Regions from separate parts of the Homo sapiens genome. Here all the other regions are linked to region 1. Evidence: promoter capture Hi-C in 16 types of primary human blood cells and fetal thymus (Javierre and others, 2016). All regions are on one chromosome and are shown on one strand. The core of a region is centred on a gene start or on the middle of the fragment in contact, and the rest is flanking DNA. Distances in the headings are between cores, read along the strand shown. Region 1 holds the start of WWOX (WW domain containing oxidoreductase). Region 2 holds the start of TXNL4B (thioredoxin like 4B). Region 3 holds the start of HSBP1 (heat shock factor binding protein 1). Region 4 overlaps ZFHX3-AS1 (ZFHX3 antisense RNA 1).

What was found. Contacts are between HindIII fragments. The CHiCAGO score rates a contact against its expected background, and 5 or more counts as called.
Region 2: a contact is called between the fragment with the promoter of TXNL4B here and the fragment with the promoter of WWOX in region 1, in 2 of 17 cell types (naive CD4 T cells and total CD8 T cells). The highest score is 6.0, in naive CD4 T cells.
Region 3: the fragment with the promoter of HSBP1 here is called in contact with the fragment with the promoter of WWOX in region 1 in 9 of 17 cell types (total CD4 T cells, naive CD4 T cells, naive CD8 T cells and 6 more); the score reaches 14.7 in total CD4 T cells.
Region 4: a contact is called between a fragment that was not itself captured here and the fragment with the promoter of WWOX in region 1, in 1 of 17 cell types (naive CD8 T cells). The highest score is 6.3, in naive CD8 T cells.

Annotation. Positions count from the first base shown.
Region 1 is chr16:78,098,404-78,104,559 of GRCh38, reverse strand. WWOX (WW domain containing oxidoreductase) reads right to left here and starts at 4,906. Exons shown (of 9, transcript NM_016373.4): 1 at 4,675-4,906. The coding sequence starts at 4,781. RefSeq lists an enhancer at 4,173-4,672. The HindIII fragment of the contact is 3,217 bases long and covers 3,637-6,156 here.
Region 2 is chr16:72,090,505-72,096,660 of GRCh38, reverse strand. TXNL4B (thioredoxin like 4B) reads left to right here and starts at 3,041. Exons shown (of 4, transcript NM_017853.3): 1 at 3,041-3,294; 2 at 5,875-6,043. The coding sequence starts at 5,912. DHX38 (DEAH-box helicase 38) reads right to left here and starts at 2,814. Exons shown (of 27, transcript NM_014003.4): 1 at 2,610-2,814; 2 at 181-522. The coding sequence starts at 503. RefSeq lists enhancers at 2,519-2,818, 2,879-2,928, 2,939-3,268. The HindIII fragment of the contact is 4,501 bases long and covers 1-3,507 here.
Region 3 is chr16:83,804,441-83,810,596 of GRCh38, reverse strand. HSBP1 (heat shock factor binding protein 1) reads right to left here and starts at 2,619. Exons shown (of 4, transcript NM_001537.4): 1 at 2,476-2,619; 2 at 1,851-1,917; 3 at 1,172-1,292. The coding sequence starts at 2,520. The coding sequence ends at 1,174. RefSeq lists silencers at 2,183-2,472, 2,490-2,666 and an enhancer at 2,324-2,825. The HindIII fragment of the contact is 4,790 bases long and covers 376-5,165 here.
Region 4 is chr16:72,665,299-72,671,454 of GRCh38, reverse strand. ZFHX3-AS1 (ZFHX3 antisense RNA 1) reads right to left here. Exons shown (of 4, transcript NR_171704.1): 1 at 6,122-6,156. Among named protein-coding and RNA genes, the nearest start is that of ZFHX3-AS1, 3.2 kb to the right of the region's middle. The HindIII fragment of the contact is 4,681 bases long and covers 723-5,403 here.

The DNA.
Region 1 (6,156 bases), core at 3,657-6,156:
CATATTATGTGAATACCACACTTCCACGTATGGGGTGTTTTCTGTTAATTTTTTTTTAGACAAGGTCTCATTCTGTGGCCCAGGCTAGAGTACAGTGATGCAATCATAGCCCACTGCAGCCTCGAGCTCCTGGGCTCAGGCGATCCTCCCACCTTGGCCTCCCACCATGGCCAGCCTATGGGTGTGTGTGTGTGTGTGTATGTGCGTGCATGCGTGCGTGCGTGCGTGTGTTTTTTGAGCACAGTGTAAGTTAGCAGGGAGATCTAGAGTTGACAGTGAGGACAGCCAGTGTGTGTGTGTGTGTGTGTGTGTGTGTGTGTGTGTGTGTTTTGAGCACAGTGTAAGTTAGCAGGGAGATCTAGACTTCACGGTGAGGACAGCCAGCCCTGTGGACACAGGCACCATTGAGGCCTCTGACTGCCAAAAGGCCTGAGCTTCATAAGAGGCACGGGGAAGGGCAAACAAGGACGGCTCTGACACTGAGACCTTGTCCCTCACTTCCCATCTCCCATGAAGGGGCTGCTCTGAGACTGTGAGGGGAGAGGGGTAGAAGAAAGGCCCACCAGCTCTCTTGGGTTCCCGGTCTACCTCGACCTCACCCCTGGGAGCCCACCCTGGTGGGCTTTGGAGTGCTAGGACATGTGTGCCTTTGAGGCACACAAGTGAACCGTGAGGCAGGTGGGAAAGCAGGAGAGGCCGACAGCACCCACACAAGACCGGGTTCCACCAGACCCCGAGGTCTCAGTGGGAGCTACAGCCTCTATCCCTGGCCATGGCCCTGCTACAGTAGGAGAAACAATATGGAAAAGAAATGACTCAAAGAGCAGCCTCCTAGAAAGAACAACCACAAAGTTTCCCAAACCCCAAGAGAAAAACAAGTGTCACTTCCAGAGTCAGGAATGAAAAGGGGTTGGAGCCAGCGCAAAAATTAAAACTGAAAAGAAAAGAAGGGCCAGGATGCTCACAGATCAGGAGAGATCAAGGGAATGTCGGGTTAGGATGGATCAGAGGCATCCTAAGCTAACACCCAAAGAATTTCAGCCTTTCAACCCTGATCCAGAGAACTGAGGGCCAGCAGGGACGGACACAAGGTCCAGAGAGTGAGCCCTCCAGCTGAGAGCCAGCCAAGCCCTGGCATCTCAGCTGGTGTATACAATAAATAGCTAATGCACGGGGGGCTGAACAACTAGGTGATGGGTTGACAAGTGCAGCAAGTCACCATGGCACAGGTTTACTTATGTAACAAACCTGCACATCCTGCACATGTATCCCGGAATTTAAAGTTAAATTAAATTAAAAAAAAAAAAAAAAAAAAAACAGCGGAGCCAGAGAGGCCAGCTTGAGATTTAAGACACTAGTCGGGAGGGCTGGAGGAAAGGCGTTTGGAAACCATGTATGCACCCGAGTCCCCTGGCCAGGGGCCACTCAGGAAGAAAGCAGATGGGAGAAAGGCCAGGCAGCAGGAAGGCAGGCGCAGGGGGCACGCAGGAGCAAGGGAGCCCCAGGGCCCTAGCGCCAGGCTCCAGGGCAAGCCTGCAGGGAAGCAGAAGCACCTCTGGGGCTGAGTGGCAAAGGAGGAGACGCCCCACAGAGCCAGAGGCAGAGGTGGGCTTAGGAAGCCGGAAGCGGGTCATGTGCATCTTTGTACTCTGGGGCCCAGTGCACCACCCACCCACCCACAGAAGCCTGCGGCTGACCCTCCCAAGGTGATTCATTTACTCATCCCACAGGGGCTCATCTTATGGCTTCTGGGTGCCAAGCACTGGGGACACTCAGATGAACAAGCTGCCCCATGACATCTGCAACCTGGGCAAGGGAGACAGGGCCAACAAGGAGGAGTACACAGCCAAGGCTAAGCACGAAGAAGCAGAGAAACAAGGTGACTAGTACAAGGTCGAGGGGACACCCACAGTTAAGAAGGTCTCTTGGGCAGTGACATGTAAGCTCAGCTCTGAAGGATGAGAAGGAGCCTTTCCCCAACAGATGTACAGGTGAGAGGAACAGCAAGTGCCCGCTCAGGAGCTTGCCTCCGTCCCTGCAAAGGCTACTGGAGCTCTGCTGCTGGAAATGTCCCTTTAATTCTCCAGAGCCAGAAATTCTTCCAGAATTCACAAGCTGAATGAATGCCACTCTCTGGCTCTGCCAACAGAGCCCAAGCTTCTCGGCAAGGCACAGAAATCCTTGAAATGGGTCCTCCCTTCCCTGCCTTAACCTTCACATTCCTGGACCCTCACAAAGATCACAGGCCCCTGGACAGGCCATGCAGGGGGTCTCTCCTCTCACTGTTCCCTCTACCTAGACTGCCCTCCTGCCCCACCCACCTCTACTTGAGCTCAAAACACCGCTCTGGGCTTGGCACAGTGCCTCAGGCCTGTGATTCCAGTGCTTCGGGAGGGAGGCTGGCTTGAGTTCAGGAGTTCAAACCAGCCTGGGCAACATGGTGAGACCCCATTTCTACAAAACATGTAATAATTAGCTGGGTGTGGAGGCACACACCTGTGGTCCCGGGTACTCAACAGGCTGATGCGGGAGGATCGCTTGAGCCCAGGAAGTGAAGGTTACTGTGAGGGTGCCACCATATTCCCTCACGACCCCCCCAACTACCTACACACACCTCATGCCAGACACACTACTTCCTGGTATACACACTGCGTGGGGACGCTCCTACACATGTCACTGTGCCCTAATAAGATTGGGTCCTAAGGATGACAACTGGCTCTTATTTGCCTCGGTATAACCAGTGCCAGCCAAAGGCCTGTCACATAATACCTGTGTGTGTCTTGAATGAACTCATCAGAACTTGGTTGTTTTTCCTCTACCTTGCCACCAAAGGCAGCAGTGGTTCACATCCTTGCATAGATTAGAATCACCTGGGAGGGAAGATTTTACAACCTACCAAGGGAGAGGGGAGGGGCCAAACCAATTAAATCAGAAATTCTGGGCTGACGCAGTGGCTCCTGTCTGTAATGCCAACACTTTGGGGGGCCGAGGTGGGCGGATCACTTGAGGCCAGGAGTTGGAGACCAGCCGGGCCAACAGCGCGAAATTAGCCAGGCCTGGTGGCGGGCGCCTGTAATCCCAGCTATTCGGGAGGCTGAGACACGAGAATCGCTTGAACTCGGCATGCAGAGGTTGCAGTGAACCGAGATCGCACCACGGCACTCCAGTTTGGGCGACGGAGCGAGACCCTGTCTTTAAAAAAAAAAAAAAAAAGGCCGGGAGCGGTAGCTCACGCCTGTAATCCCAGCACTTTGAGAGGCCGAGGCGGGAGGATCACGAGGTCAGGAGATCGAGACCATCCTGGCTAACACGGTGAAACCCCGTCTCTACTAAAAACACAAAAACTTAGCCGGGCGTGGTGGCGGGCGCCTGTAGTCCCAGCTACTCGGGAGGCTGAGGCAGGAGAATGGCGTGAACCCGGGAGGCGGAGGCTGCAGTGAGCCGAGATCGCGCCGCTGCACTCCAGCCTGGGCGACAGAGCAAGACTCCGTCTCAAAAGAAAAAAAAAAAAGAAAAACCCTCTGGAAGTGGGGCCCAGAAAAAGGCTCTTACAAAAAAAGTTTCCCAGATGCTGAAAATCAGATTTACATCCATGTTTCTCAAAACCAGGTGATATTCCACCTCACCTGGAAAGCTTAAAAAAAGAGACTCCCAAAGTTGAGAGTCGGCTACAGTAGGTTCTCTATGGAGACCCAAAACGTGTATTTAGGACATTTCCTAGGTGATTCTAAGGTGCCGATATAAGAGGCACTGTCGTATCTTAAGAGCAATCAAGGAACGACAGTTAAGGAACAGAGAGTACCTACTAGACACGGTGCTATGTGCTTTACGCACAGTGCCTGAACTGACCCTCGTATCAACCCATTTTACAGGTGAAAAAACCAAGATTAAACGTTATTTCAATGGCCCAAGGTCACACAGTTAAAGATGAAGGCTCTGCTGGGGTTTCCAAAACTTTCCCAGGAAATGATAGTGAAGCTATCTAGGACTGCTACTAAAAAATACTCCTGGCTAGGCGCAGTGGCTCACGCCTGTAATCTCAATTCTGGAGGCTGAGGCAGGTGGCCTGCTTGAGCCCAGTAGTTCGAGACCAGCCTGGGCAACATGGTGCGACCCTAGTCTCTACAAATACTTAAAAAATTAGTCGGGCATAGTAGTGCACGCTTGTAGTCCCAGCCACTCAAGAGGCTGAGATGAGAGGATTGTCTGAACCCAGTAGGTAGAGGCTACAGTGGGCTATGATGGCACCCCTGCACTCCAGCCTGGATGACTGAGCAATACCGGTCTGGACAAAACAAAACAAAACACAACAAAACTCCTATCCCTGCAACCCAGAGCCTGCAGGAGGGAGCTGAGCATGTGCGCTTTTTAAAACATCTTTATTTTTTGGCGGGGATGAGGCCGCTTTGCCCTCGCCGCGCCGCGCAGTGCTGCATCCTGAACAGCAGAGGGCGCGCCGGGAAGCCACCAGGTGACCCCCGCTGGACCCGAGGCCCACCAAGGGGGCCGGCCCCTACTGGGAACCCTGGACCCTTTTCCCTGAAGCTCCTTAACAGTTACTTTCACTTTGCACCGCACGCGCTGCGCTGGAGTGCGCGTCCTCCCCGCGCAGGTGGCGTCCGTGGGCTGTGCAGGGTCCCAGGTGCGTCCGCGGCCCCACTGCGGCCCCCTTACTTGGCGTAGTAAACCCAGCCGTCCTTGGTGGTTCTCTCCTCCCAGCCCGGAGGCAGCTCGTCCTCACTGTCCGTGTCGTCCAGCCCCGCGTAGCGCAGCGCTGCCATGGCTGACTGTGGAGGCACCTGGCCCCCCTATCGCCCGCTGCCGGGTCCACTCGCTCAGGAACTCACTCCCGCTCCAAACGAGACCCGCGCGCGTCGGGGCCCGACCGCTCACGCCTGCGCACTGCGCCCTCCAGGGGCCGCTCCGCCGACCACGAAGCTGAAATCCAGTCTCCGCAATATCGCGACGGCCGGCGTCAAAGGGGCAGGGCCTGGAGAGGAAGGCGGTGAAAGTGCCTAAGAGATCGCGCTGCCGCCGGGCTAGACAGCAAAGCCGGAGAGCGCTCCGAGGCGCTAGAGATAGAGCGGAGCCTTGTCAGCCTCCCCGCCGCAGGGAAGGGGCGTGCGCATCCAGTTTCGGGCCAGGACTCCGCCCGTTGCTGGGCGACCCGTAATCACTTCCGCGTTGTTCTGGCCAATCCTGCAGGAGCCCGGCAATTGGATATGGGAAATGTAGTCCAGGTGGCGCCTGACCAAAAAGCGGCGCCCGACTAAAAAGCGGCGCCCATGCTGTTGTCCTGGGCTTCTGTCTCTCCTTGCCTTGGGGTCTCGTGAAAGTCCGTGATCACAAACCTTCCAGGGCTTGCCAGCATTCGTGCTGATTCACAACCTTTGTTTTGCATATGAACACAATGTTAAAATATAACCTGGAGAACTTAAAACTGCTGATTCCTGATTTCCTGGTTTTAGAGAACTTTCTTTCAGCCAAAACACATAATAGAGACTGTGATAATAGAGACTGTTGTTTAATAGAGACTCATGATAATAGAGACTGATGATAATAGAGACTGATTGATAATAGAGACTGTTGATAATAGAGACTGATGTTTACGGAGCACTTAATGTGCGGTCCAGGCCAGAAATGCACAGACATCACATGTAGCTGACACCTTTGTGTAGTGGGCACAACTCAGACAGGGTAGCTAGGCCGGGCTCAGTGGCTCATGCCTGTAATCCAAACACATTAGGAGGCTGAGGCAGGAGGATCACTTGAGGCCAGGAGTTTGAGAACAGCCTGGGCAACATCGCAAGACCCCTGTCTTTACCAAAAATAATTATTTTTTTAGTTTGCCGGGCGTGGTAGTGCACATCGGTAGTCCCAGCTACTCATTGAGGCTGAAGGGGGAGGATCACTTGAGCCCAAGAAGTCGAGGCTGCAGTGAGCTATGATCGGGCCACTGCACTCCAGCATGGACGACAGAGAGAGCTGCTGTCTTTAAAAAACTGCCTCACCTTTAGAGAATTTCCTTTAGTAAGTCTGGAATAGGTCCAGAATCTGGAAAGAAAGGGAGGGAGGGAGGGAGGGAGGGAGGAAGGAAGGAAGGAAGGAAGGAAGGAAGGAAGGAAGGAAGGAAGGAAGGAAGGAAGGAAAATAAAA
Region 2 (6,156 bases), core at 1,792-4,291, 6.0 Mb after region 1:
TCTCGTCTTTATTCACCTTTGTTTTTCCCCACAAATTCCTACCTACCTTCAGTATTACAGAATCATAATAAAATCATAAAGCTCTAAATCTCCAACAGGAAAACTGAGAGATAAACATGAGCTGTTATTTTCCAGCCTCCGTTCGCTTCCCTCTGGGCTAACCCATACTAAGGCCTTTACCTGTCTTTCCGGATATTTTGGCCAGCCTGGTCACCGCCCTCTTCCTCAGCATCCTTCTGGTCATCCTTGCTCTCTTCCCAGTCCTTGTAGGAGGAGACTTTGGACTTCTTCTTGTCCTCCCCATCGTCCTTCTCCTCTCGCTCTCTCCGTTTCAGGGAAGCCAGCAAGTCCAGTCCGAGTAATGAAGGGCGGGGAGCAGGAGCCTTGAAGACATGCTGCTCGCTGGCCGCACTTTTGGACTTGCAAATAAGACCACCAACCTGACAGTCCAGATCAGTGCCTTCCAATCGATGGATCGAGGCATCCTCACTGGTGTCCCCCATCACAGGATCTGGGATTTCTCTGGAAGGAAGGCAAACCATTTGGTACTAGAGAAGGCTCAGCTCTACTATATCCCACAATAAATGCAGTTATGGTTATATGTAGGTGATTAACCTTCCCCATCTCCCCTTAAGACCAGGACTACTTTTGCTCCCTCTCTCCAAGACCTTTCCATCAAGTCACTGCCTATCTCCAAAGATTCTCCTATTCCAACCCCCAATAAACACCAAAATAGATACACACACACACACACACACACACACACCCCATACATTCCTCCCCAGCCCCCACAAAGATCCAAGAGGCAATAAAAAGTCTCACTAAGGGACACTTTCTAGAGCCTGATGTCAGCAGCTGTAACAGGGATGTAGGGAAAACACCACTAAATTTGAATCAGAAACCTCAATTAGAAACCAGGCTCTTGACACTTTCTACCTGTATGATGGTAAGCAAATAACTTAATCTTTGTTTAGCCATAATTTCATATCTATTAAATGGAAAAAATTTTTACCTTATCTAATCCATGAAGCTATTGTGAGAATCAAACAAAAAGTGTATGTGAAACCATAAAGAGTAGCTCTTTATGTAACCATAACAGTTAACATAAATGTAACTGCTACATTGTATTATTTGCTATCCTCCTATATACTGTTGGTCCCTCACCCATTTTTTTACATGAGTTCTACCTCTTCCTCTCTTTAAACAACAGGTACAGCAGCACAGAGATGGGGCAGAAGGCTACCGTCCATGTTCTCCATACTTTAGTGGCTTTTCTTGGCCTAGCTGCGTTTTACAGAAAACAATTTACTCACAGCAGCCAAAATCAGTTTAATAACAATCCATGTTCACCAAAAATATTTATGAGAAACACCAGGTTAGGAAAAGGTGTTACTGAGAAGTATTTAAGTGGCTACAAGACTTCTGGCACTCAAGTTGGAACAAGCTCCTCTTTACCTCTCACTACACATCTGCCACTCATCAACATATATCAGTTCTGGATGCTTGGATAATTCCTCTCATTCCAACAAGTTAGCAAAGCAAAGGAGATGCCACCAGAATCCAGAATTGTTTACCAAACTCTAATTAAATGCACAGCTCTACAGAGTATTGCCAAACAGACTGGACACATAATATTAATGCAGAAACAAGAGTTACATTTTGAAAATGCCATCAGGCAGAACAGAAAAAAAGAAAGCTGCATATTGGTGACATCTGTGCGCATGTGAGGAAATCCACACAAGAAGGTAAAGATATACAGGCTCTACTCAATAGTTGTCTAAACTAGGAAAGGTACCCTGGACTGCCATTCTACGCAGTTGAGAGAACACTGGATGTGTTGTTGACTGCTGTAGCTCAATGTCTAGCAAAATAAGCGTTTGATAAATTAAAAAATGAATTAATTTAAACTTATTAAAGGAGGACAGGAACCCAAACATTTCTGGAGACAGCAAGGGAAGATTCCAGCAACACAGGACAAGGAGACAGCCAGAGAGAACTTCATTAGCTGCTGAGACGAACAAATAAGGAGCTAAAGAGCAAGATTCTTGAGAAGGATTAATGGCAAAGAAACTACAAGGCGTACGAGAAAGCCAGGGAAGAAAGAACCTGGATTCATTCATTCAACAATTATTCACTGAGGGTGTCCCTGAGCCAATTGCTGTTCTCGGCGATAGCAACAGAGAACAAGACAAAAATCCCCGCCCACCTGGAGCTGACATTCTAGTAGAAGAGATCGCCCACCAGATTGCCTGGTATAAATGACACTGTGAGAGAGCAGAGGAAGACACAAGGAGTCCTACTCGGGCTCGGTGACAGTCTGGGGTGGGTTAAAGCGGAGGCCTGGGAGAGGGACCAAGGCCACTCCAGGCAGCATCCCTGGATCTCAGCGAGGCCGCTCCAGGCAGCAGGATTTGACCAGAGCAAGGAGGAAGGCCAAGGCGGCCAGGACGGATGCAGCATCCCTGAGGTGAGTAAGGCAAGGTGGGTGACAGGGACGACAGAGGAACTCCCCAAACTGGGGCCCGGACCTGAGCAGGGGACCAATATCCGCCGCCTAGAGCCGCCATGATTACAGAAGGGCAGGCCAGGAAGGAAGAAGGGACTCTCACCTCACCAAGCGCGACTCTTGGGACCCTTCTGTCCCGGATTCTGGGGCGCCGGCGCTGCCACCCCTCGCTCAGACAGGCTCAAGGAGCCAAAATCCACACCTTGAAAGCGGCCATTATTGTCCCTTAATACTTTGCGCGCCCCCTCTATCCGCCCAAAGCTACCATAGAGAGCAGCCTGGAACACGCCCGATTCCTGGATCCAAGTGTGGAACGGTACGCCAACAGGCTCTCAAGGCCTCCTCTGGGGCTCTGATCAGACACTTCCGAGTCTCCTTGTGACCAATCACTCTTAGCCTAAGAGACTACATCCCGCCTCTAGTCTGGGGGCAGGAAAAGGAGGGGAAAAAGGTCGACCATCTTTAATACGGGCGGAGGTGACGCCTAGCTTCCGGTCAGAGCCGAGCAAGGTGGGCGGTGACTAGAAGCTCTTCCGTTTATTGGGCTGTTGAGCGGGGGCCGACCGACGGCCAGGAGTTTCTTTTCTGCGCTTGTGCGTTTTCTGTTCGGTTTCCTTCCCGCTAGCGGGGCCACGAGGGTTGCTAGGCAACAGCCCCTGGGTGACTTGGTCTTAGGGTCCTGTCCGGCTTGGGGCTGATGAAAGGAGCTGTCCGCGCCCGGGCTCTTCCGAGAAGTGGTTGCTGACAGCCACAAAGTGAAAGGGAGTGAGGCGGCGTGGACGAGTAAGGTAAGTGCTGGGGTCCCTTAGCGCTTGTGGGCCAGGAGCAGCGCAACACAGGTGACTTTAAATATGTATATCGGATATTTTGGAAAATGGAGATGCGCGCCCGGCTGTAAATAAAAATCACCCATGCGTTCACACGCAGAGATGACCACTGATTTCCAGTTGTTTTTCTGGAATACATTGTAGTAAGATTCTGTACAAAAGTGAGTTCAAGCTTTTTTTCTTTTTTTGGTGTTTCTGCAGTTGTGGCGCGCGCCTGAGGTTCCAGCTACTCGGGAGGCTGAGGCGGGAGGATTGCTTGAGCCTGGGGAGTTGAGACCAGCCTGGGCAACATAGCGAAACCCCGCCTCAGAAAAAGAGAGGGAGAGAGGAAAGCAGTGGAGTTATTGGTCAAAGAGTATGTCAGTTTTCTTTCCAGAAAGGTTTTGTGTCTGCATTCCAGCAGGAACTCCCTGTGCCTGCCCCTACCACTATCTTGTTTAATTTTTGCCAATTCAGTGACTTTGTAAACATATGTTTTAATTTGCTTTTCTTTGCTTACTGGTAAAGCTTAACTTTTTAGTTTATTTACTGTCCATTTGTACGTCTTCTTTTGGGAATTCTCTGTGGGTATCATTTACTATGGACATTTTCTTAGATGTGGTCTCAGTTTTCCTCTCCTGCTTCCAACGTTTGTCCAGTTGCACCCCTAGCCTCACCACTAACAACTTTGTTCTCCCCTTACTTTCTCCTTTCGATCAGTAACACGGAGGAACTGCTGTTTGTTTGAATTCTAGTGGGACAGATCCGTCTTCTCTTTGACCTTCCCTTTCATTGGTAATTTGTTCTGCTGCTCACATCTGATGACGTCCCTTTGGGCCATCAATGTCCCTGTTTAAAGTATGACCTATAGCTGGAACAATCTTATTTCCTATGTGAATTTTAGTTAAATAATTCCTTTTTTTTTTTTTGGAGACGGAGCTTCGCTCTTGTTGCCTTGCCCAGGCTGGAGTGCAGTGGAGCGATCCTAGCTCACTGCAACCTCCGCCTCCAGGGTTCAAGCAATTCTCCTGCCTCAGCCTCCTGAGTAGCTTGGATTACAGGTGGCATCTGCCACCACGCCCGGCTAATTTTTTGTATTTTTAGTAGAGACGGGGTTTCACCATGTTGGCCAGGCTGGTCTCGAATTCCTGGCCATAGGTGATCCACCCTCCTTGGCCTCCCAAAGTGCTGGGATTACAGGGGTGAGCCTGGCCTAATTCGTATCTTAAAATGTGACTTGTGACAAAAAAAATAGGAAAAGAAATCCTCCCTTTTCATATTTGGAACTGAATTCAAAATACCGACCATCTCAATGGAGTCTCTTATAGATGACCACAAAACTAAGCTTCTTTGTCAAAGAGTTTCTCAAAAATGAAATTTCTACCAATCATGAAAATAGATTATTGTAGTAGAAGGACCCCTGGACTAGAAATTTGGTGGCCTGTATTCTAGTCCTTGTCATTGTAGTAGAAAGTGCAACTGTAAGCAAGCTAGTTTGTAAAATGACGGGGTTGTATTAGGTCCCTTGTACCTCAGTATTTTATTATTTGTTTATGGTATTGTAGTTTTCACACACACTCTTAATTGATCTGTTTGCCGTGTAATGAGGTGCACCTAGTAAGGTGCACACGAAGAATCTTTAAGCCAGGACTTGTAATAATATAAAGTATACAATAAAGGACTGTTTAAAAAGTGTAACACATGCAAGAAATAATATGCTGCCATGACAGAGAATATGGATGTTCTCTATATAGAGATATGGGGCAATCTTCATAGGTTAGGTTTGAAATAATGAAAAGTGCTGAAGAGTAGATAAAGTGTGTGTGCTGAACATCTGCCATTGGTCCCTCCACAGCCATTCTTCATCCTCCTCTAGACTGCTCTGGGACAGGGAGGTTTGCCTGCCTCAACAGGCCCCTGCCCTCTGGTTCCAGTTGGAGTCAGCCGGTGGTTGCATGAGCAAAGGTCAGAGGGAGGGAGGAGAGTGGCTGCAACACCTAACAGCAGGCTGCCCTCCTATACACTGTCCTCTCCACTCACCTCTTTCTGCCACACAATTCTTATAACTGCTTCCTACCGTGGCTTCTTCCTCCCATGGCCTAGGGATGGGTACAGCATCCCGCTGTTACTAGCCCCAAAGTAGTACACTTTACCGTATTGTTTTTCTACACCTGCCTTAATTAAACTGCCTTCAAATTACCAAAGTTGAGAGTGTCATCGCTTTCCTGCTGGAACACTGATACAATAGGCTATCTTTTGGGGGTGGGGAGAGAGAGAAAAAAAATATCGGAACGCATATTTGTATTTTTTGGTGAATGCATAACAAAACTCTGAAAGATACATGAGAAACTAATGAAAGCAGTTATCTGGCCCGGGGGAGGGAACAATGAAAACTGGTTCCAAGGAGCAGGGACAAAGAGAGGGAAACTCCACAGTGTTACCTTTCTATGATGTTTCTTTCATACCATGTGAATACATTAGCTACTCTGTGAATTAATTTTTTTTAATGAGGGCTCACGCACTTAATCTAAACTGTCTTTAAACATTGCACCTTTATTTCAGGAGTGACAGTGAGGATTCACATTTGGGTTATTTCAAGATGAGCTTCCTACTGCCCAAGCTGACTAGCAAAAAGGAAGTAGACCAGGCGATAAAAAGTACTGCTGAGAAGGTGTTGGTTCTCAGGTTTGGGAGAGATGAAGATCCTGTCTGTCTGCAGCTAGATGATATTGTAAGTGAATGTCTAAAATAATTGGTTTTTATTAATAATCTGTATATTCTCACTTCAGCATCTGAGTAGTACATGAGAGGGAGTAGTCAGGGTTGGGTATATAGCTGTTCATT
Region 3 (6,156 bases), core at 1,370-3,869, 5.7 Mb before region 1:
TTGCCTCCCAAAGTGCTGGGATTACAGGCATGAGTCACCACGCACCAGTACCTTTTTTTTTTTTTTTTTTTTTTTGAGACAGAGTCTCACTCTGTCGCCCAGGCTGGAGTGCAGTGGCGTGACCTCGACTGCAACCTCCGCCTCCCTCAGCAACATTCATTTTTATAGAGAATTAAAATGTTATAAATGAAACAAGAGAAAAGTGAGTCTAAAACTTATTTTTCACACATACAGAGGAAAAGGATCACCATGCACTCTGCTGAGTGATTCTGTACATTTACCTATCTTGCTGTGTAGGTACTTTGAATTACTAGGCTTTCCTCTGACATCTGAAACTATTCAGAGGAAATTTAAATGAACTCCAGGGTAAAAGCTTAATGTGGCCACAATCTAGTTCACCTATGTCAAGTTACCAAGAAAGTCTCCAGAATTTAAGCCATTTAAGAAGGTGGTAATGTGGGTGACTTATCAGTTATTTCCATAAAAAAAAAAAAAAGCAATGGAAAATCTTCCAGTGACAGGCTTTATAGGCCAACAAAAAGACACCTTAATTATTAGCTGGAATGATAAAAACTCAGTGGTTATCTAATGTTAGCCAGTGGTCTTCACTAATAGTGACAGAAGTCTAATTAATAAAAACTGGGAAAATAAATTCGGTGTAAAGAATGAGTTTGGCATGAAAAATTTCAAAACATCAAGTCCACAGCAGGTAAACAATACAGTGATGCTTGCTGGGATCATGGCTGGGAACTGATCTACAGAATGTCTGACTACATACAAATTATACTTACAGGTTCTCTCTATTCTTTTAAGACAAAATAAAAAAAAAGACCGGGCACGGCGGCTCACACCTGTAATCCCAGCACTTTGAGAGGCTGAGGCGGGCAAATCACTCAAGGTCAGAATTCGAGACCAGCATGACCAACATGGAGAAACCCCGTCTCTACTAAAAATACAAAATTGGCTGGGTGTGGTGGCACAAGCCTGTAATCCCAGCTACTCGGGAGGCTGAGGCAGGACAATCGTTTGAACCCAGGAGGGCAAAGGTTGCAGGGAGCCGAGATCGTGCCATTGCACTCCAGCCTGGGCAACAAGAGCAAAACTCCGTGTCAAAAAAAAAAAAAAAAAAAAAAAGAAAAGAAAAGAAAAAAAAAATTGCCCCCTTCCTCACCTTCAACTCTTTTGCGTGGCAGGTATCTTGTTTTCACTTTCCAGTTCTTCCACCCCAGCCTGTGTCATGAGGTCCGCGATATTCTTTTCCAGATCATCAATGCGACTACTCATATCATCAAGTGCTGAAGTTAAAGACAACGCGTGCCAACATCTCATTGAGCCTTTTTCCTCCCGTCCCTGCAGACTACAGCCTTAAACACAACGACTTTAGGGAAACTGGTCTTCCAATTTTCTTTCGACACTGTTACACGCTGGTGGGTAAGAGTACAGGACTGTGGGGCATGGCTACCCCGCATCGGATTCCAGCCCTGACCCTTACTAGTGATGGAACCCCTAAACCTCAATTTATTCATTTGCTAAAGATGATAACACTACAACCCACTCATAAGGTCATGCTGAGCATCAAAAGACACACACAAAAGCGCTTAGTTCACAGTGCATGGTCCACCACACCAGCTATTAGGATTGGTAGACGTATGCTCCTTGAGCCAGGAGTCTAACTCAGCTTTGCCCCTAGCTCTCGGCGCAGTCCTTCTCAGAAACACAGTACAATCCAAGCTCAAATTCTACAAGTGAATGGCTGAAGCTAGCCTGAAAACTACTCATTTATCCCCACCACTGCCCGGCAAATAGGCTCCAAAGGCCCACAGGAGGCCGACTGCAGATAAAAAGGATATTTCTCCCAATGATCTGGTCAGACATGGTCTGAAATTTATCTTGCATCTGCTGCAGGAGTGTCTGCACCTAAGAAAAACCGAAACAAACAAACACGGTCCACATCGATCCTGAGACAACTTCCTGGGATCAGGACGCAAGCCCTGGTCCCGGGGTTCCAGCCCCATTTCTGCCTCTGGACAGCTGTGCGGCCTTCAGCAAGATCTTCCTTCTCTGGGCTTCCGTTTTCCAACCTGTCCAATTAGACTGCTGGGCTGGGGAGGCCGCTGCGACTCAAAGCTCAGGGTCTTTAGGTTGTTTCTGCCGGGCTGGGGCACCCGGGGGTGTGTGAGGAGTTGAAGGGCGGGGAGGGTGTCAGAGGTAGGCGGGAGGGACCCGGAGGGCGTTCGCGACAGATGAATGGGGCTACTGGAAGGGGTCGGGCTTGGGGGCGCCCGCGGGGAGACTGGCCCGCACCGAGCGCCCCGGGGGTCAAGGTGGCCGGGAGCCTCGGCCAGAGACGCTTCCAGAAACGGGGCCTCGGCAGACGCCACGCGCGGCCGCGGTGGGCGCGCCTCTGTCCAGCAGGGCTTGGCCCGGCGCCGCCCGGGAAGGCCGCGGCCTCCGGCCCTCACAGCCGTCCCTTACCACCGAGGTGAGGTCCTGCACGGTCTTGGGGTCAGTCTCGGCCATCTCCCCGATGCCCAGCTTGGCGGTGATGTCTCAGACCGTAACCTACACTTCCGTTTGTCCGCTCAGTCGCCCCGGGCCGCTGCTTCTCGCGACGAGACTGGCAGCTCGCGGGACCGCGGGGCATTATGGGAGTAGTAGTTTCTCCCGCACCGGAAGGGCCTCGAGGCCGCGCGCTTCCGTTCCAAGGAGCGGCCCCACCCCACTCTCCCCGCCTTCTTTCGCATAGCCCCTCCCCTCCCTCTATGCCCCGCCCCTCACGCAGCGCGCCGTCAGTGGGGTGGAAAGTGAGACCAACTCAGAAATGGAGCAATAGAGGCAGGGAGTGGTCTTGGCCTCTCTTCCAGGCTGTAGTCAGTCGAAAGACGGCTCTGGGGTTTCTTTGGCCTGTCGGGACGAACTTACAGAACTTTTGCCCTTCAACAAGCCCCACTGTACCCTTGTAACTGCCCCCAAGCCAAGGAACATGACCCACCCCTACCCGCCCCGGGAGCCCCATGGCTCCTGTCCTGTTCTGTCATCTCCACCCTATGAAGGTGGCCAGCGTCTGGAGTTTAGCCCAGTAGGTTCATTGTGCCCGTCAGGTTCATATGAGGGGATTCAGACAGGAAGCTGTCCATCATGCCTGGCTTCTTTCACTCCACGCAATGCCTGCTGTTGAGTGGGGAAGGCTTCCGGCATCAGGGTTAGACTGTGGGTTTGGGTGTTGAAGGAGGTGGGCACTGCTGATTTGGAACCTCAAGTTCCAACCCCACAGGTGGTCTTTAGGATTGGGTCTCATGGCAAGGGGATAGGAGAGTCCTTGACTGCGGGCCTGGCATGTTCTGGAAACTTTCACACATCTCATTTAAGGACTGTGCTATGTGAGGGGTCAGCTCCAGTTTGACTTTAGCTAGGGAGAGGCTGTAAGGTGTTAGAGCTGTTACGGGAAAGGGTCCTGATCCAGACCCCAAGAGAGGGGGTTCTTGGATCTCATGCAAGAAAGAATTCAGGGCGAGTCTGTAAAGTGAAAGCAAGTTTAAGAAAATGAAGGAATAAAAGAATGGTTACTCCATAGACAGAGCCCTGAGGGCTGCTGGTTGCTCATTTTTATAGTTATTTCTTGATTATATGCTAAACCAGGGGTGGGTGATTCATGCCTCCCCTTTTTAGACTATATAGCGTAACTTCTTGACGTTGCCATGGCATTTGTAAACTGTCATAGCGGTAATGGGAGTGTAGCAATGAAGACAAGCAGGGTTCACTCTTATTGCCATCTTGGTTTTGGTGGGTTTTGGCCGGCTTCTTTACCGCAAGCTGTTTTATCAGCAAGGTCTTTATGACCTGTACCTTGTGCTGACCTCCTATCCCATCCTGTGACTTAGAATCCTTTAACTGTCTGGGAATGCAGCCCAGTAGTTCTCAGCCTCAGTTTACCCAGCTCCTATTCGAGATGGAGTTGCTCTTGTTCAAACGCCTCTGCCAGACCCACCAGTGTCTCTAACAAACCCGGAATCCAGTTGGCCTTGAGGCATGAGACTTCAACTCCCTTTACCACCCCTTCCCCCTCACTCACACCTTTGCCCCTCACCCTTCACACCTCATCCTTTCCTATAGAGAGATCTTCCTTTCTGTGTAAGTATACACAACTTTTTTGTAATTGGCTGTTGTCAACTGGTATTTGGCTAGTGCTTTACCCGACTACTTGAAATAAAAATATCTCAGTGTTTTAAGTTAATCCTCAGAAGACCCTGTGATATAATTATCATAATTTTACATTTTTGAGAAAACAGATGCAGAGGCGTTAAGAAACTGGAACAAGGTCATCAAATTAAGGAAGTAAGAGACGCAGGACTTCCTGACTCTGCATCTTCTCCTTTTTTCTCACCATTCTAGAATTCTCTGAGTTTTTTGAGCTTAGAGCAGAGTTTCTCAAGAGCTGCAATACTGGCATTTGAGTCAAGTCGTTCTTTATTGTTGGTGGTGGAGGGGGCACCCTGTATATTGTAGGACGTTGGGCAGCATCTCTGACTTCTACCTACTAGATGCCAGTATCTCAGTTTTCTTAAAAGACTTTTTTTTTTTTTTTTTTTTTTTTGAGATGGAGTCTTGCTGTGTTGCCTAGGCTGGAGTGCAGTGGCACCATGTCGACTCACTGCAACCTCCGCCTCCCCGGTTCAAGCGATTCTCCTGCCTCAGCCTCCTGAGTAGCTGGGATTACAGGTGAGCACCACCATGCCCAGCTAATCGTAAAAGACTTTTCATAAAACTTCAGAACTCCTTAAAAACTAGTGAATAGCCAAGGTGAAGAAAGCCCTCAGGCTTCTGACTTTAGACCCCAATCCCTGGGACTCCCACACTCAGCAAAGAAAGCTGGGTGCCTGCACCCTGGATCTCTGAGCAAACCTGTCTTATGGCTGTGGGCAACTCAGGAACATGAATTAGCACGAGAATCTGGAGTTTTTCTTTCCTTTTCTGGTAAGACACTTGTGGTTTTTTTTTTTCAAATTCCAATTGGAAATTTGCTTTACATGAACAACAAACAAACTTGATACTCTTTTAGTGGAGGCATTATTTGTTCCTTTATTTTTTGCACTTAAACAGACAGGCAGTATGCTTTCTCTGTGTGGAGACCAAGGTCTGTTAAAGGGCTGCTTTTCACGGAAGCTTCACTAATTTATACTCATGGCTGACATACTCACCTTGTGGGGCTGACACACCGAACCTAACTGAATATTGTCCCATTAACAAAACTAATGTATTACGTGTAAGGCACCAGTAATTAACCTTTAAACTTCGGTTTTGAACAACTCTCATTTTTAACCTTTATTTAAGTGTCATAGTTGTCTTACCTCCTCTTGGCATTTTTTTTTTAAAGCTCTTCCTAGATTAATTGCATGTTGTAACTCCCTTTTTCCATTCAAGACAGTTTTGTTTTACGTGCGCTTATTATGGTACTTTTATAATTGCTTTTTGGTTCTCTGGGCCATTCTTTTGACATGCCTCCTTTCTTGGATCTGTACTATGATAGGTGGCTGGGCATGGTGGCTCATGCCTGTAATCCCAGCACTTTGGGAGGCTGAGGCAGGCAGATCACTTGAGACCAGGAGTTCAAGACCAGCCTCGCCAGTGTGGCGAAACCCCATCTCTACTAAAAATACAAAAATTAGCTGGGCTAGGTGGCGTGCACCTGTAATCCCAACTATTCAGGAGGCTGAGCCAGGAGAATCGCTTGACCTGGGGAGGCAGAGGTTGCAGTGAGCCGAGATCTATCCCCTGCACTCCATCCTGGGCAACAGATTGTGACTCTGTCTCAAAAAACAGTAATAATAAAATACACTATGGAAGGTGTTGGTCTGTCCATGTGACCACATGCAATGAGGTGCTTTGTGCGTTTGCCTTGTGTGAGCAGCGATGGAATGATCCTAGCGGGGCCTTGGAGGAACTGGAATGTTCTTTGCCTAGTTGCACCTGCGTCAGCTCTGTAGGCCCAGCCCTGGGGCCCAGCAGCTGCTCCCCTGGTTTGCTTTCCTCCCAGGTTGCCTCATGCTGCTGCTGAGCAACCTTCACCTGATGGGCGGTGCCACAGCAGGGTCAGTGAAGGGTGCCCCTTCCTTCTAGTGACCTGGGCTGCCCTAGCCCTGGCCCTTCAGTAGCCAT
Region 4 (6,156 bases), core at 1,814-4,313, 5.4 Mb after region 1:
GAACTTAGAAAGAGATCCATTGTTCCAACAGAGAGAAGGCTTACGTTTTAAGATGTCTTTATTTTTGACATAAATTAAATGTAAATCTTATTAAAAAATAAAAGTTGTCTATGCCAAAAGGTTACAATGGTTAATCCATTTATATAATATTCTCAAAATGGCAAAACTGTAAACCTGGAGAATAGACTAGTGATTTGCAGGGGTTAGCAGCTGGGGTATAGGAGGATCAGTTGTGGCTATAAAAAAATGTGGCATGAGGAATACTTGTGGTGACTGAAGTTCTACATCTTGAATGTAGTGGAGGTAACATGAATCTACACATGATACAACTGTATTGAACTAAATGCACACACACACAAATGCATGTTAAACCTGTGAATTCTACATAAGGTCACTAGATGTCAATTTCTTGATAGTGATACTGTACTATAGTTATACGAGATATAGTTACCACTGGGGGAAACTGAGTGAAGGATACAAGAGATCTTTCTGTACTATTACTAACTGCAACTACATGTAAATCTAATATTTAAAAAATAAGCTGTGGCTGAGTGTAACAGTATACAATAAATCATCTCTTCTGCTGTCTTAGCTGAAGAATTGAAAAAAATTTTCAAGACAGAAAGTTAAAAAAAGAAGCCTTGTGAGTTAAATGCATGTTGAGAAAGAGAACGGGCCTGGAAATAAGAGGACTGCTTGTTTTGCACTAAGTTGCTCAAGCTTTCTGCATCTCATCTGTAAAAGGGACTATCACAATATTGTTGAAAAGACTATATGAAGAATATATTTAAAAGCACTGTGAAAATTGTGATACGTGTCATTTTGAGATTTTTGATAACAGTATTTAACATTTACTGAGTGTTTTTATGTGTTATGTGTTATTCATACTACAAGATCTTCTAATAACCCTAATTTTCTAATAACTTAATCTTCTTGATAACCCTATAAAAACATCAGACAACTAATCCCATTTGACAGAAAAAAAAAACTTAAAAATTCAGAGCAGTTAAGTAAATTGCATAAGGTCATTCACTTAATAAAAATAGCTACCATTTATTGAATGCTTTATATAGTTGGCACATACTTAACATTATATCATTTATTTAATGTTATAAGGCAGGTGTTATTATTTTCCATTTTATAGAACAGGACTAACTTAACCAAGGTTGTATACACAACTTGTAAGAGGCATGCCAGATCTTTTATATAGTTGACCACCACAGTCACTATCTACTTATAAATAGCTTATAAGACTGGCATATAACATGCAATGTTTATAAAACTAGTTTGTTGCTAAACCTAGAAAAAATATTATTTTCCCTCCAACTATTTTTCTTCTTTAAAATTTAAAAACTCCATTCCTCAAATTACCTTTATTCTTTTGTTTTCTTCTACTTCTTAAAAAGAGGACTTTTAATCAATTTTATTAATTCATTTCTTTTACCTTCCCCTACTATTCAAGAAGAACCTTACAAAAATCTATGTTTGGCTAATAATGAATGATTACTATTAATTTTATCACGGCCATTTTATCTCTCACTTTTTATTTCCTTTGATTCTGCTCTTAAAATTATTTTGTTATAAAAAATGGAAGTCTCGGCTGGGCACATTGGCTCACGTCTGTAATCCCAGCGCTTTGGGAGGCAGAGGTGGGTGGATCACCCGAGGTCAGGAGTTCGAGACTATCCTGGCCAACATGGCGAAACCCTGTCTCTACTAAAAATAAGAAAATTAGCCAGGCATGGTGGCGGGTACCTGTAATCCCAGCTACCTGGGAGGCTAAGGCTGGAGAATCTCTTGAACTGGAGAGGCGGATGTTGCAGTGAGCCGAGACTGCGCCATTACACTCCAGCCTGGGCAACAAGAGCAAAACTGTCTCAAAAAAAACCAAAAAAAAAAACCTCTATGAATTACAAGTAACTTGAGGGGTCACCTCTTTGTTATAATAATTTCTCACTCTTTTTTCCACATTATAAATTATGCTTAATCACCTAGGTTTGATTTTGCTGTGAATTTATTCTTCAACTCGTAGAAACCCCAACATTCTATAGAACTTCTTCTATTCAACAATACAGATACAGGTCAATTCCAGAAACCTCTCTACATCCACACAACCCCTGTATTTCTTATTCACCTGCTATAAATATTATTTGCTTGAGACTCTTGTTTTTGGTTTCTGCCAGTTTGTTTTTCTTTCCACTTTGTTTCATATGCTGCCTCTTTCAAGGTCTCTAAAAGGAGAAATACTCCCTCAATTCTCTGTATAACCATTTTCTTTTTCTTTGATCTCTTAGAAATCTTTATTAAACAAAGATTTTCCAATTTTTTCTTCACTCATACCTCTTTTCCAGGCTCTTAAATGACATTTCTTACTTGCCGAATTAATGGCTTATCATATTCCCTGTCGCTCAAGATTTAATCTTTAGAATTCTTTTTCAATAGTCCCTCTTCCCTACTCACTATGGTTAATAGATCAGTGTGTTCTTAAATCGAGGTTTTTAATTTAAATAATCTAAATCAAAATCATGAAGAAGGGTTGTTAAAAATGCTAGATTCATGTGCTTTACCCTGAATTAGCTGAAAAGGTTTTCAAGGATAGATCCCAGAAATCTTTTTAAATCAACAACCCATGTAAGACTTAGGCATACTACATTTTGAGAACTACTGCATTATATCAATTTTCACCTAAGTCTGCTCATTCTACCTTCTCAGTGTTTCTCATCCATTTATCTCCTATTGTCTCTACCCTAGTTCAGGGCTGCTTCATCTCTTAGCTGGACATCTGTAATAGGATTTTCCTGCCTTTAGGATATTTCCCACTTTAATTCATCCTACACACTGGAGTCTTATTAATCTTACTAAATTGCAGCTCTGCTCATTTAATGTGACAACAATTTACTGAGAGCATACTATATACTAGGTGCTCTAGGGCAGTAGATTCTAAATGGTGTGATCACCAGATTTATTAAGTGAGGGAAAACTTTTCAAAATAGAGATCCTCCACCACCTCTCCAGGCCTACTTAATTACAATCTTCAGAGCTAGAATTAAGACAAGTTTCTTTTTAAAAAGTTCCCCAATTGACTCCTTTGGGTAACACTAGATGCTTTTGAATAACATTAGACTGGAACAAATAAAGATTATGACATTCTTGTGTATTTCAGAACGTACTGGGAGGGATATGAACATAAGCAAATAGCTACCATATAATATGCCGATTAATGATATATTAGAGGTACCAAGTGCCATGAAAAGATTAATTCGAACTGCATTAAATACCTTCAGCACCACACCCAGCTGGATGAAATCTGTTTGTCCTGTAATCTTCCATAGCACTTTATCTATAATCCTCTTATGGTCTTCTTTCATCTTGCTCAATAATTATTTTTTTATTTGTCTCATTTCCTCTACCCTTGTACTTGAGGCCACAGTCTTGGTCTTTGTGGTGCATGTAGTCTGACAAGAAATTTTTTTTGGAGTTCAAATTTATTTACACGATAAAGTTACACAAAAAATTAAATTTTGTAAAGTTAGGTATTTAATAAATGATCTCAAAAATAGGTCCTTGTAACTCTAGGATATATGTAGCCAAACGTATGGATCTTAATCCCTGCATGGCACTTAGTACAGTTCCTTTAACACAACAAGTACTCAATAAAAAAAGCTGTGCATAAACCAATGGGGTCTGGGAAAAATGTATTTGGATATGCAATAAAAATACTTAATATGTCCAATATCCACCATCAGGTTATGATTCCAAACGAAGTAACATGGTGGTGGTTTTTGCAAACTGATAACCTGTAAGTCAAAACCAGCCAAACTGTTTTGTTTGGATGGCTCGGGTGGGGATGGAGGGTTGTTTACAATTTTAATTTGAATGTCTTCTGTCTGGGCAAATATACTTTGAATTGCCACAGGCCCTACCACTTCCTATTATCTTACACTAATCTGACTTACACATTTATGCTATCTATAGGTCTAAAAATGGGAGTTCTGAAAGGTGACAGATAATTGCTCCCAATCATTTCTGCTTTTTGAGTCTTGGCTACTGTTATGGCCTTGAGTCTCCCCAAAAGTTATATGTTAAAGGTGTAACCCCTAGTACTTCAGAAAGTAACCCTATTTGGAGATAAGGTGTTTGAAGAGGTAATTAAGCTAAAATGAGGTCTTTAACACGGGCCTAAATCCAGTAGGGTTGGTGTGCTTACAAGGAAAGAAAATTTGGACACAGGTGTGCACACACATGGAGAAAACAGCACATGAAGACAAAGAGATGAGACAGTGATCTGAGTCAAGGACAGAGACCTCAGAAAGAAACCAACCCTGCTGATACCTTGATCTTGAACTTCTAGCCTCCAGAATTGTGAGAAAATAACTTTCTGTTGTTTAAGCCACCTAGTCTGTGGCATTTTGTTATGTTTGCTCTAGCAAACTAATATGGATCTCAACTATATTTAGTATTAATCTTGGCAGTTTTACATCAAAACTTATTTGTTCAAGTCTGTCTGCCAGGTACATGGTGAACACAATTCTGAGTAGTTTAGGGTTTAGATGATGCAAGTTATATGTAAGATATATTCATAAACATAAATAAGAAACATTATAAAGAATACAAAAAAATGCCAAATAAAGACTATTATAGGCATTCAGGAGGGAGAGAGGTGACTATGGACTAGGTCACAAAAGATTCACAATTTGACCTGGGTCTTAAAAGCGTAAGTAGGATTCAGCCAAGCTGAGGAGAGAGGACATCAAGGAGATAACAGTGAACAATGCCAAATACATGTCTACTACCGGAGGAAATTTATTTTTCTCCTTTTAAGTACCTCTATGTTCAAGTTTCTTTTCTGTGCTTTCTAACCTCTAAGATCACTATATATTTTTAAATGAATGGTGTAAGTCCTTACAAAATTTAGGCATTTTTTTTTCTTGTCAGATAAATAACAGTTCAACTGACTTTGTTCAGTACAACACTGACATCCAAAGGATACTCGGGTTCATCTGAAGGCCTCTTGGGCTTCTGCTGAGTTGGTTTGATTTTCAAATGGTCTATGTAGGCAGTAAGCTGCTCATGGAACATTCTCTTTTGAAACCCTGGGCATTTTTTGATCTCTTACCCATTTATCAAATCTCATCACATTAAATGGCTCCACAATGCAGGTGGCCTGTGTTTTCCTAAGTGCCTCCTCTTCTTAAGAATGTATTACTCAGTTCATTAATGTTTCATACTTAAGTATTCTGTGTATTTAATTTTTTATTTAATGAAATTTCTAACCTTCAGGCTGACGAATTATTCAGAATGTTTCATCCAAGCTGTTGGAAAAGTGCTCATTAGCAGGGAGTTTTGAAGATGGAATTTTAAGAAAGGGGTTGGCAGGATCCCAAACACATATAGATCTAAGCTTTCATAAATGCTTCCCTACCTTAGCTATGGAGGAAGAAATTGTTGATAAGCAGATAAGTTTTGCTTTAGTTTTTACATTTTAGTGACAATAACAATGATTTCTGTGGTCTGATAAAAGATGTTCGTTTAAAGAGTTATCTGCAGAAAGCTGTGTGGTCACTAATGTTTACTTTCATTGACAAATGAGATCGTCTTGTGTGGGACTATCATCATCAAATGAGACACAACTGAAACTAAAGCAGCCATGCTTACCATTCGGTTTAAAATTTTTAAAATTAAAATAATGCTCCTAACGAAAGGAGTCTCAGCTGAATTAGTTTGAGTGTTGGCATGGACTGGGCTCAAATCACCTGCTCATCTTTAACACCTGCCTTCAGATTTATGGGCGATTAAGAACTTAAGTCTGAGAACCTATGAGACTGTCACAGAAAATAAAATTTCAGTTCTTCGTCCATTAACTGGTTCAGATGAAATTTGGGGTCAGAAACAACCAGAACGTTAAATTTCATTGTAAACTTAAATCGCATTCAATGGTTAAAGACTACAAAATGTATGTAGTGCAGTTAAAAAACCTCACACAGCAAGAGGTTATTGAATGTTTAAAGATCCAAAATTTCAACTTTTTGTGGTTAAGTACAGTTATGTTGGGTAACAAAGTTGACAGCAGGTTTCTGTTACCCCCCTGTTGGAGGAGGAGGAGGCGCTACCACACGCTTACCTTAGGGAAATAACGTGCACTTTATAACCGTTCAG